2 separate regions of the Homo sapiens genome follow, and region 2 is linked to region 1. The links are contacts of gene promoters, found by promoter capture Hi-C in blood cells and fetal thymus (Javierre and others, 2016). All regions are on one chromosome and are shown on one strand. Each heading gives the region's core, a stretch centred on a gene start or on the middle of the fragment in contact. The rest is flanking DNA. Distances are from core to core; before and after follow the strand shown.

Region 1 (5,325 bases), core at 1,136-3,635:
AGGGTCAACGTGGGAGGGAGCTACAGAAGGACAACTCAGTAGGGGTGATTCATTAGAAGCCATTAGTGTAAAATGTGTAAACTTTTCCTCTGAGACTTGCATTGCAAGATACACAACTCTAACCTATAAAGGATGACACTTTCTTTTTCTTTTCTCTCTCTCTCTCTTTTTTTTTTTTTTTTTTTTTGAGACAGAGTTTCACTCTTGTTGCCCAGGCTGGAGTGCAGTGGCATGATCTCAGCTCACTACAACCTCCGCCTTCTGGGTTCAGGTGATTCTCCTGCCTCAGGCCTCCCAAGTAGCTGGGATTATAGGTGCCTGCCACCACGCCCAGCTAGTTTTTGTATTTTCAGTAGAGACGGGGTTCATCGTGTTGGCCAGGTTGATCCCGAACTCCTGACCTCAGGTGATCCACCCACCTCGGCCTCCCAAAGTGCAGGGATTACAGGGGTAAGCCACCACGCCCAGCCAAGGATGGCACTTTCACAGACACAATATCTATGTTATTACTACTATAAGGGAGCATGTGGAGTCACCTTATTAAGGGACTGAGTCCTACATCAGTGGCTCTGCTTGCCTCATAAAATTATTCATTAATTTTTAGCAGTGGCCTTGGGAAGTTGTGTACATAATATTTAGAGGAAAATGGCATTTACAATGATAATGAATTAAAGCAATTCACACGGCAGTACCACTGCCCCAATTTAAACCTTGAGGCTTGCTAATTTCATATTTAGCTGCATCCCATATGCTCCCAATCCCTCTGCCCTAGTGTGGAGCTACAGCTCAAACTCCTTTGAAGGTAGGAAACTTACCTCACACACGCGTGTTCCCCTCATTCTTTCAGCGCATAGAACACTAAAAAGATGCTCCTTAAATACATGCTAAATAAACTGATCAATAGTTGCCTTTTATTAAATATCTTTGTGTTTCAGGTATTTCCTTATTTCCTTCACAGACCGGATCATGAATGATCTCCCAATGTGACAAGGTCTTATTCTCCACAGTTTACCGTTGAGGGGACTGAGGTGCAGAAAGCCCAAGGTGTATGCAGCCCAATCCCCTCTGATCCCACTCTACTGCATTGCTGCCTTTTGTACGCAGCAGGAAGGACACTTCCTGTAAAAATGAAAAAAAAAGCCTTAAGTTGTTTGAGAGAGGGTCAGGAAGAAAACAGGAAGAGCCAGTAGACTGCAGGTGCTTTCAAAGGGCTCCCTGTCTTTGACATCCCTAAAATAAAAACTTGTTAATTAAGAGATTGGCCACAGAAATCCAGGTGGAAAACCTGCAGAAGAGTGGGTTCCACAATTCTTCAAAACAGAACAAAAAAACCCCAAGACTTGTTATATTTTTACCGGTGGAGGGGAAGAGGTTACAGGAGTGGCCTTGCTCCCCGGGCTGGCCTTGCTGAGCAGGTGACAATACCACACATATAAAGGTTTTAAGGTGAAAAGGTAGTCAATATTTTACATTTCGAAGATAGTTTTTAAAATCACCTACTGCATCAGTAGTAATACAACAATAACTACCATTTACATACCACCGCACACATCGGGGCTGCGTAAAGAACTTTATAGTGCACCATCTCAATTAATTCTCACAACTCTGTGAAGTAGGTTTTATTATTCTTAATTTATAGACGTGTTCACTGTGGGCCAGGGAGATGAGCTTTCCCGCGATTGCCCAGCTTTTAAGAGGTAGATCTCAAACCTAAACGTGTTTGACCAAAAGCCCTGAATAACATTTAGCCGTGGGCCTCTTGCGGATTTGGCGCTGGTCCGAGGTGGGGAATTGTGAATCTCATTTATTTATGCTGAGCTGCGCACACATATGCACGTGTAAGTTACAAAAAACAAATCCAGGTCAGGATCTCTGTCCGCTTGAGGTTTCAAAGCCTACTTGGGTAGACAGCGGTAAAAGTCTCAACTCATTCATCTACTCGTTTGCTCTCTTCACAAGTATTTATTGCGCACTTCAGTATTCCAGACAGGGCGCTAACCTTGCCCTGGAGGAGAGAATGGTGAACACAACAGACATGGCGTTTGCCTCCAACTATCCCCTTTCCGATTCTGCTATCTCACGGGCGAGGCGTTCAAAGAAGCAGGAAATATATCAACAAGGGGGTGACTTAAGCACCCGCTGCGCGGGAGCCGGAGGAAGCGCGCTGAGCCTGCAGAGGTGGTCAGGGCGAACTTCCTGGAGGCAGCGGCAGCAGCAGGCCGGGCGAGAACCCAGGTCGCTCGGAAGCGACAGTCTGAGCCGGGAACGGGGAAGAGGGGGCGGGAGCCGAGGCCCGGGCGGGGGCAGCCAGCGAGTTAGGGTTAGGACGGGAGGATTCGGCTTCCCGGCGGCAGAGGGCGCCTGGCGCTGCGGTCTGGCGCGCCAGAGTCGCCCGCGCGGGCGCCGAGAGGAGAGGCGAGGCGGGGAGCGCAAGCGGCGGCGGCCACTGCCACGTATTCCCGGCAGTGGTGGCGGCGGCGGCGGCGGCGCCCGCGGGCAGGTGGGCTGGGAGCGGCGCGGCGGCGGCGGCGGCGGGGCGGGCGAGCCGGCGGGCGGGCGCGGGGCACGGGGCACCGGGCACCGGGCGGGGGTGCGGCGCCGGGACAGTACGGTTCCCGCCACGCCGGCTCCGCCTCCGCGCAGTGCTGCTGACCCAGGCCTGGGCGCCCGGCGGGTCCCGAGCGCAACTCGTGCGGGCGGGGTTGGGGGCCCGAGGGACTCGAGCTCGCCTGCCCGTCGCGGCTCGAGACGCTGCATCCCGGTTGCTGCGGGGCGGGGGCTGGGAAAAGTTGGGGCGGACCGCGAGCCCGCGGGGCCGGGCGGGAAGTGCGGGTGCGGGGCGGACTCAGGGGCCGGGGGACGCAGTGCAAAGGGCTTGGGCCGGGGCGGCCGGGAGGGCCCCGTATGGGAAGGTGGGAAACGCGGGTCCTTTGAGGACGCCGAGAAAGGGGTGCGCTCAGGGTCTCTGGGAGTGGACAAGAGTCCGGCGGCGGACCTTGCGGGTGAGAAGGGTCGGCGCCTGGGGGTCGGGGAGTAGAGGTGAGGCGGGGGCGGGATAGAGCCTTCCTCCTCCCCCGTTCTTTCGGGACCGACCCTGAGACCCGGGGCAGGCTCCGAGCTGGGTACGCCTCTGGCATCTGAAGACCCAGTGGGGAGTTCCTGTACGGGGTGGGTGGAGGAGGGAGCTGAGCGTTGCTTCCTCTGCTGCTGGGGCCGACTACCGCCCCTCCCCAGCGGCCAGATTCACCTCAGACTGCAGTGCTTTTGCCCTGAGGAAGTTGAGGAGGGACAGCTGAGCGGATGAGATGTTTGGGGTGTTCCAAGATGAGTGGGATTAGGCTGCATGATATCATAACTATCTCCGGGAGCTGTCAGAAAACACTCCCATGTCCTCATACACCCACCCATCCACTCATCCAGTCAGTACTGCCAAGCTCCAGGCTCCCTTGCTCTTTAAGTGACACCTCTAGATCCCCAGAGCCCAACAGCGCATCTGCTCACAGCCTCGAGGGTGGCAAGGGTGGAAGACATGGCCTGCTAGTGTCTGCGTAGGTTGGTGCTTTCAGAAACAAGTGGTTCTGGAGGTGCTGGATGCTTTATTAGAACAACCTGTGTGGAGCCCGTTGACAATGCAGATGACTCATGTTGGCTTTTTTTTTTTCCCCTTTACAAATAAACTTTGTATTCAAGACACCAGTATGCCTGGTCATTTGCAGCAGTGATACGGCAAGAGACCCATAGTGGGCTTCTTGAGCCCTTATTCTCGTCCTAGATGTGTTAGCAAGAAGTTTGACCTTGGATGAGTCACTTGCTCTCTCTGGACTTCTGTTTTCTTATCTGTCACATGGGGTATAAAGAGAGAGCTCGACAGTGTGATGTAGACAGGAGTAGGTTTCTGAGGGACACAGTGAAATCTTTTTTCTTGTAAGGCTGGATCAGCCACAGAAAATAAGCCTTAGCCTGTTCTTATAAAGAAATTAGCTTAGATTTAAAATAAAATATGAGAAGAAATATTGCAAAAAGCAAAACAACAAAAAACTAATAGTAGTTGGTACTCGATTTACAACATGAATACTGTTCTTATGCTTGCAGTTAGTGTACTTGGTTGTCCAGCTATCTACTATAAAGTTGCTCATTGTGCTTAGAAAGTGTGTATTTCACCTGTGGACCCGAATTTTTTCTTATTGTTTAATCTTCAAGCTTGGAGTGGACGCTCAAGCTTGGAGTTGGATTGGTCCTGCTGGGGTTTGTCTGAAGAACATCCTCAGGGTCTCTCATTGCATAATATTATAGGTTTCCTTCTGTCTGACTGATGCTGGGGTCCTTGTACAACTATGCTTCTGCCATCTTTTCCATTCTGGCTTGAGAAGTGGTGAGCTGGTTCCTCTTGCCTCTGGCATGCCCAGACTTCTCATTTCTTTTCAGATGAGTGTAGTAAAAGGCAAGCAGTGAGTTAGAGGCAGCACATTAAAAATTGCTCCAGGCAATCATCTGTGTCCCCTCCACCCCGCTCCTGTCCCCTAGACCCCCTGGGCAACTTCTCACTAGAGCTTCCTGGTCATAAGCTGGCCTTGACATTTTGGGTGCTGAGGGCCATCACAGCATTGAAGTGACTTGGCCAGGGTCACACCACACATTAATGATCAAGCCATGGTGCTGGAAGAAGAGGAATTTTTTTTGTGTGTGTATTTTGTCATAACTGAATGTTCCTGTTCTTGTCCATTAGTAGCTTTCAAAATCCATATTGGGTTTGACCACATCATTTTCAGTAATCCTTTTTTGTCAGCTTTTTGGAAGCTGCAGTTAGTGGTTCTCTCTGAGTTTGAGGTAGTGGTATTTTATTATTAAACAATTTTTTCCAAATATTTTTTAAACTACTTTCCTTTTCAGACCAGATGAGGTAGTGTTAAAAATGATATCTTCTCCAACAAGTAAAGGCTTGATTAATTAGGTTGAGTCTTTAAAATATCTAGTGTTTGTGTGTGTATAAATTTTACTTTAATTGAGAAGTATTGATAAAAATCATAATCGTCACCATTTGAGCCCCTGCCATTGAGCAGGCATTGTGAGGTAGGAGTGAGCATCATTTTACAGGAGAGAAAACAAAGCCAAGAGATGGCACGACTCTGGTACAGCTGTCGTGCATAAGTTACTGATGATCTTTCAATCCATGTACCATTTTGTTAACAGTGGAAAAGGAATTCTCAGCTATCCTACAGGGTTGTGCTAGTTAAATGAGATACTGTATGTGAAGAGCAACAAGTAAACTCTTAACGGGCTCCCTAACCCAGCACATTTTAACATAAACACTTGTAGACTCTGGAA
Region 2 (5,141 bases), core at 1,829-4,328, 250 kb after region 1:
TTCTTAACACTTGTTAATGTCTTTTTCTTTCAGATTGAAGAACTCTCTTCAGCTGACAAAATCCTTCCAATTTTGTATGTCTGGAAAAGTCTTTATTTCCCCTTCATGTTTAAGGAATATTTTCACTGGATATAATATTCTAGGATAAAGGATTTTTTTCCCTCGGCATTTTAAGTAGGTCATGCCACTCTCTCCTGGCCTGTAAGGTTTCCACCGAGAAGTCTACTGCCAAACAGTTTGGAGTTCCTTTATATGTTATTCGTTTATTTCCTCTTGCTGCTTTTAAGATTCTTTCTTTATTTTTGATCTTTGAGAGTTTGATTATTAAATGTCTGAGGTAGTCTTCTTTTGGGTTAAATCTGCTTGACGTTCTATAACCTTCTTGTGTTGGAATATTGATATATTTTTCTAGGTTTGGAAAGTTTTCTGTTATTATCTCTTTGTATAAATTTTCTACCATAATCTCTCCCTCTCTCTCTCTCTTGCCTGGATGGACAACTCCTCTGGAGGGCAATTAGACTAGCCCTCGCTAGTCTAAATGCTCCCTCCATGTGCATCAGTCAAATTCTTACCTGCATTGCTTTCCACTGTGACAGAGCAGCACTGAATTCCAATGCAAAGTTCCATAATCGTTTTGCTCTTTCTCCCCAAAGCACACACATTCTCTGCCTCTTTCCTTGATGTTAAAACCAGATACTGTGATCACTCACCTGATTTTTGATTCTAATGAAAGAATCAAAATTTTCTATGAATAGTTGTTCCTGCGGGGATGGGGAGGGGATGATTGCTGGAGGGTTCTATTTGGCCATCTTGCTCTGGCCCTGTCTAAACAACATCTTATTATATTTGGGGAACTTTCTGATGTATGAGTCTTGTCTTCCCAAAATTAACCCAGAAAATTCTGTTCTGCAGTGTCATTTGCAGCTAGCACAGACACCTGTGACCTAGGCCTTACTACCAGACTCACGCACATGAGATTTTTACACAGAAGTGAACAACTTGAGAAAGGTGGCCCTGCATGGAAAACGTTTTGCTGATGTGGGCTGGACAGAATCATTCTGCTTTGGAGGGCAACCATGGGTTGGTGCAAAAATAATTGCAGTTTTTACTTTTAATGAAAAAGACCGCAATTACTTTTGCACCAACCTAACAGCATTAGCAGGGAAAGTAGTGGTAGAATTTGTTTCTTTTTTTAGGACAGTTCTGCCCCACATTTTTAACCATTGTTCTTGGAAGTTTAGCATCAACATGAACTACATAATATTCATTGTCAGTTTTGTAGTTTGCAACTGACAACCCTGAGTAGTACAGTGACAAATACCAAAAGCATAGCCAAAGAACTTCTGTGCCATGGCACGCCTGTAATCCCAGCATTTTGGGAGGCTGAGGTGGGTGGAATGCTTGAGCTCAGGAGTTTGAGACCAAGCTGGGCAACATGGCAAAATCCCATCTCTACAAAAAAAAAATACAAAAATTAGCCAGGTGTGGTGGCACATGCCTGTGGTCCCAGCTACTCTGGAGGCTGAGGTGGGAGGATCACTTGAACCTGAGAGGTGGAGGTTGCAGTGAGGTGACATTACACCGCTACACTCTAGCCTGGGTGACAGAGTGAGACTCTGTCTCAAAAAAAAAAAAAAACTTCAAAATGGTTACCTTTGGGAGTGAAAATGTGGGGCAGGGAAGGTAGATCAGGTAACTACTGGTTTTCATTATAAGCCTTTTAAAACTATTTGACTAACTACATATGTATACACACACACACACACACACACACATATGTTCAGAAATGCAAGGCCAGGTCTATAAGAAATTGAGTATTTTTGCCTGCACATACACACACACACAGACACACACACACACATGACTATATATATATAAAAAATATATATATAGTCAAAAAGAGATATATATATATATATTTATATATGTCTTATAAAATTTAAAATTGAAACAAAAAGAAAGAAAACAAAGGGACAATGAGGACTATATATATATATAGTCAAAAAGATATATATGTATTTATATATGTCTTATAAAATTTAAAATTGAAACAAAAAGAAAGAAAACAAAGGGACAATGAGGACAATCTTTTGGTGAGAGTAAATGCGCCACATGGGTGCTACCTCACTGTTTTTTTTTCTCTGTGGGAGACATTACTAATTGATAAGAACTCTCTCTCTCTGGAGCCTGGAGACAGACTCAATACTTCCCAGAATCCAGTTTTAGGCATATAAGATTTGGGTCCTCAGAAGAAAACCATTTGCCATTCTTGGCCTAAGAGGAAATAATCCTTTACAGGCCTGCCCTTGCGTTTCTGAACTTAAGTGAAAAAAGCCCAAAATATGTTTTATGGTACACCAAACTAGAACATATATCCCTGTATACCTAACTCTGAAAACCAACTTAATTAAAGGATGATAGTCACTACTGTAGAACTCTAGCATTCCAGTGAAATTGCTACAGTTGAAAAAAGCCATTTAGAATTTAAAAAATATTCTCAACATTAACATAAAGATATACTTCAAAGCTTTACAGCACCACGATTAACAGAATTTTATTGCTGAGAGTTTTCAAAATAGTGTATATCTCTTCTCTAGCAGTATTGGCATATAACTTCATAAGAAAATCATTTTCCTTCAGGTCAGTATATAGTTAATTCACATTTCGAGATGAGGCTACCATGACAACATGACAACTTAATGAGGTTTGAACAGCTTCAGAAAAGGGATTACTAAAAGGAAGAGAAAAGAAAAACCTTGTGATAGAAAAATAGAATACCAGAATTATCTGGATGATGTTTAACAGCCATCTACAAGGACTTATTGTCACTCTTTTATCATGGCTTCCTCTCTCTGTTTTCATTTCAACTACTGCAGTGGTAGGATTATTTGTTCTTTGATGAAAATGAGTTGTTGTACAAGATTCAAGAAGAACACTTGTTCCCATCAAGCACAGGATCTGTTAAAATCTCCTGACATTTTTCAATGGCACTTTCATATTTCCTGGAATTTGATTATAACTGCCTCATCATTATATGGATCACATGGCTAATGTGCAAGGGCAAAAGGTTATAGCATGAATTTTCTGGCCCCTCAAAGTCTCAAAGGAGATGATAGTTCAGGCCATGAGAGGAAGACCTAGGCAGTGTGTGGTAAATGAGATATGGAACAATGTGGAGTAATGGTACAATGTTCGAAAAAGCACCAGAAGGCCTAGGACCCCAAATTCTGCCAAACCAATGGTGTGACACTGGTTAAATCACTTATCCTCTGAGTCCCATTTCTTTCATCTGTAAAATGATATGGGCAGGTTCAGTGATCTGTAAGATAACTTCATTGCACCAAATTTCCTCAATACTGATGTGGCATATTTTACAACTTTTAGAATTCCTATAAATAGTGTTTAAACATAGAAAGAATACGGATAGACTACCCTGTATTCTCTTAGAAAAATCAAAAAGCATGACCGGTGTTAAGAGCAGTGCCAAGGTAGGTTCAGAATACATAGGAATCCATTTGGGTAATTTGAGGCTGGAACAATTACATCTAGTCAGAGAAAGGCATTAAGAAGCTGCGTATCATTTAGAAAATATTGCTCTAGAGACTATCTGTGTACAGAATAAAGCTTCAAGAAAAATGAAACAACAAAAGATAGGCAGACTCGTGAGGTCCCCTAGTTGTCAGAGAACCAGGCTCCTTCTTGTTTACTGTGTGGACCTCACTCAACATTTGCACAAGATGGCTGCTGGAGCCCAAGGTGTTGAGCTGGTGTGTTCCAGGCAGCAGGTTATGGAAAGGGTCCAAGAGGGACAGTGCATGCACTCCATGAAATTCCATTTATGTCTTATTCTCTAAATGAGGTAATTTGACCACATGTAGCTGCAAGAAGACTGGAAAATGGAATTTTTGCATGAACAACGGTGTATCTAGCTAAAAGCTACTGTTTTATTACCATACATGGGGAGGGAGAAATTAGCACTTCCTGACACGGTACTGGAGCGATGAAGCAGCGTGGCAGGATGAGGCTGAGAGCAAAGTTGTCTGTCAATGCTTGAAGGAGGAAGCAAAACCAAGTTGAATTGTGCAGACAATAATGATCACAAAGACAAGGCCATGCTTGGGCTTTCACTAATGTGTTTGCCTTGTCCCATAAAGATCTGTACACATGTGCACACACACACAGACATATACTTGAGTGTACACACTACACAATGGGTCAAAAATATAGTACAGCTCTAGATCAGTCACAGAGATTAATAATAAACATGAAGCAACTCCGTCAATTCTAAAATTCAGACAGTTCAGCTTTCTCTTTATTAATAAAACCAGAAACATCCTTATAAATATTTTTAAACATAAACTCTGTGCTATGCTCCCTACAAAAGTATTCAAGCTCAGAGGAACTCTGAATGCTCTATGATGTCAAAGGATGTCTGACGATTTGGGAATTTTTTAATAACTAAGACTTAAATAGTTGAAGGGATAGTCAAACTAAATTTAGCCATTAAATTACTACATTTCAGACACTGTGTGTGTCTGTCAGTCAGAGATTACTTTTCAGATTCCCAGAAGAACAGGTCATTAAAATAAATATTCCAGAGGGTTTTAACATCAGCAAAAAACAAACTTATGAAATCTATGACACTGTTAGATTTCCATCTGTTCCAGGAGCTGTTAACGATGCATGTGGGGTTATCCAGGCATTATTTCAAAATAATGTGAATTTTAAGGACCGTTAATCATCTGCAGACTCACTATGGGAGAAGGACACGTGCCAGGTGCAGTACAGCAGATGCTGTCCGCAATTTACCAGGATCATGTCACAATTCATTCACATTATGGCAGTCTGGTGTTCAAAATCTGCTCTAAACTAGACAAACATATGCTGGATGGCTGCTAGGTAAGCATGTTTCTCAAGGTAATGAATTATACCTAGCAAGTTTCCAGATAAATTAACTTATTCCTGATCTGCAAGAATCATTTGGAATTGTCTCTGGACATCCATGTCAAAATCTTAAAGTTCTAGACAACAGACTAAGATGAAACTCACAGGCTTGCCAGGACCATGACAGAGTATTTCACATTTGATGCTAATATATTGTAAAATACAAGCTAATGAATTACAAATGGTGTCACACAGTC

What was found. The method cuts DNA at HindIII sites, captures the fragments that hold promoters and counts their contacts. A CHiCAGO score of 5 or more calls a contact.
Region 2: a contact is called between a fragment that was not itself captured here and the fragment with the promoter of SMCO4 in region 1, in 2 of 17 cell types (endothelial precursors and megakaryocytes). The highest score is 6.1, in endothelial precursors.

The regions. Positions count from the first base shown.
Region 1 is chr11:93,540,451-93,545,775 of GRCh38, reverse strand. SMCO4 (single-pass membrane protein with coiled-coil domains 4) reads left to right here and starts at 2,385. Exons shown (of 3, transcript NM_020179.3): 1 at 2,385-2,500. RefSeq lists silencers at 2,185-2,314, 2,475-2,524, 2,655-2,894. The HindIII fragment of the contact is 4,665 bases long and covers 1-4,202 here.
Region 2 is chr11:93,296,030-93,301,170 of GRCh38, reverse strand. No RefSeq gene overlaps it. Among named protein-coding and RNA genes, the nearest start is that of DEUP1, 32 kb to the left of the region's middle. The HindIII fragment of the contact is 1,097 bases long and covers 2,530-3,626 here.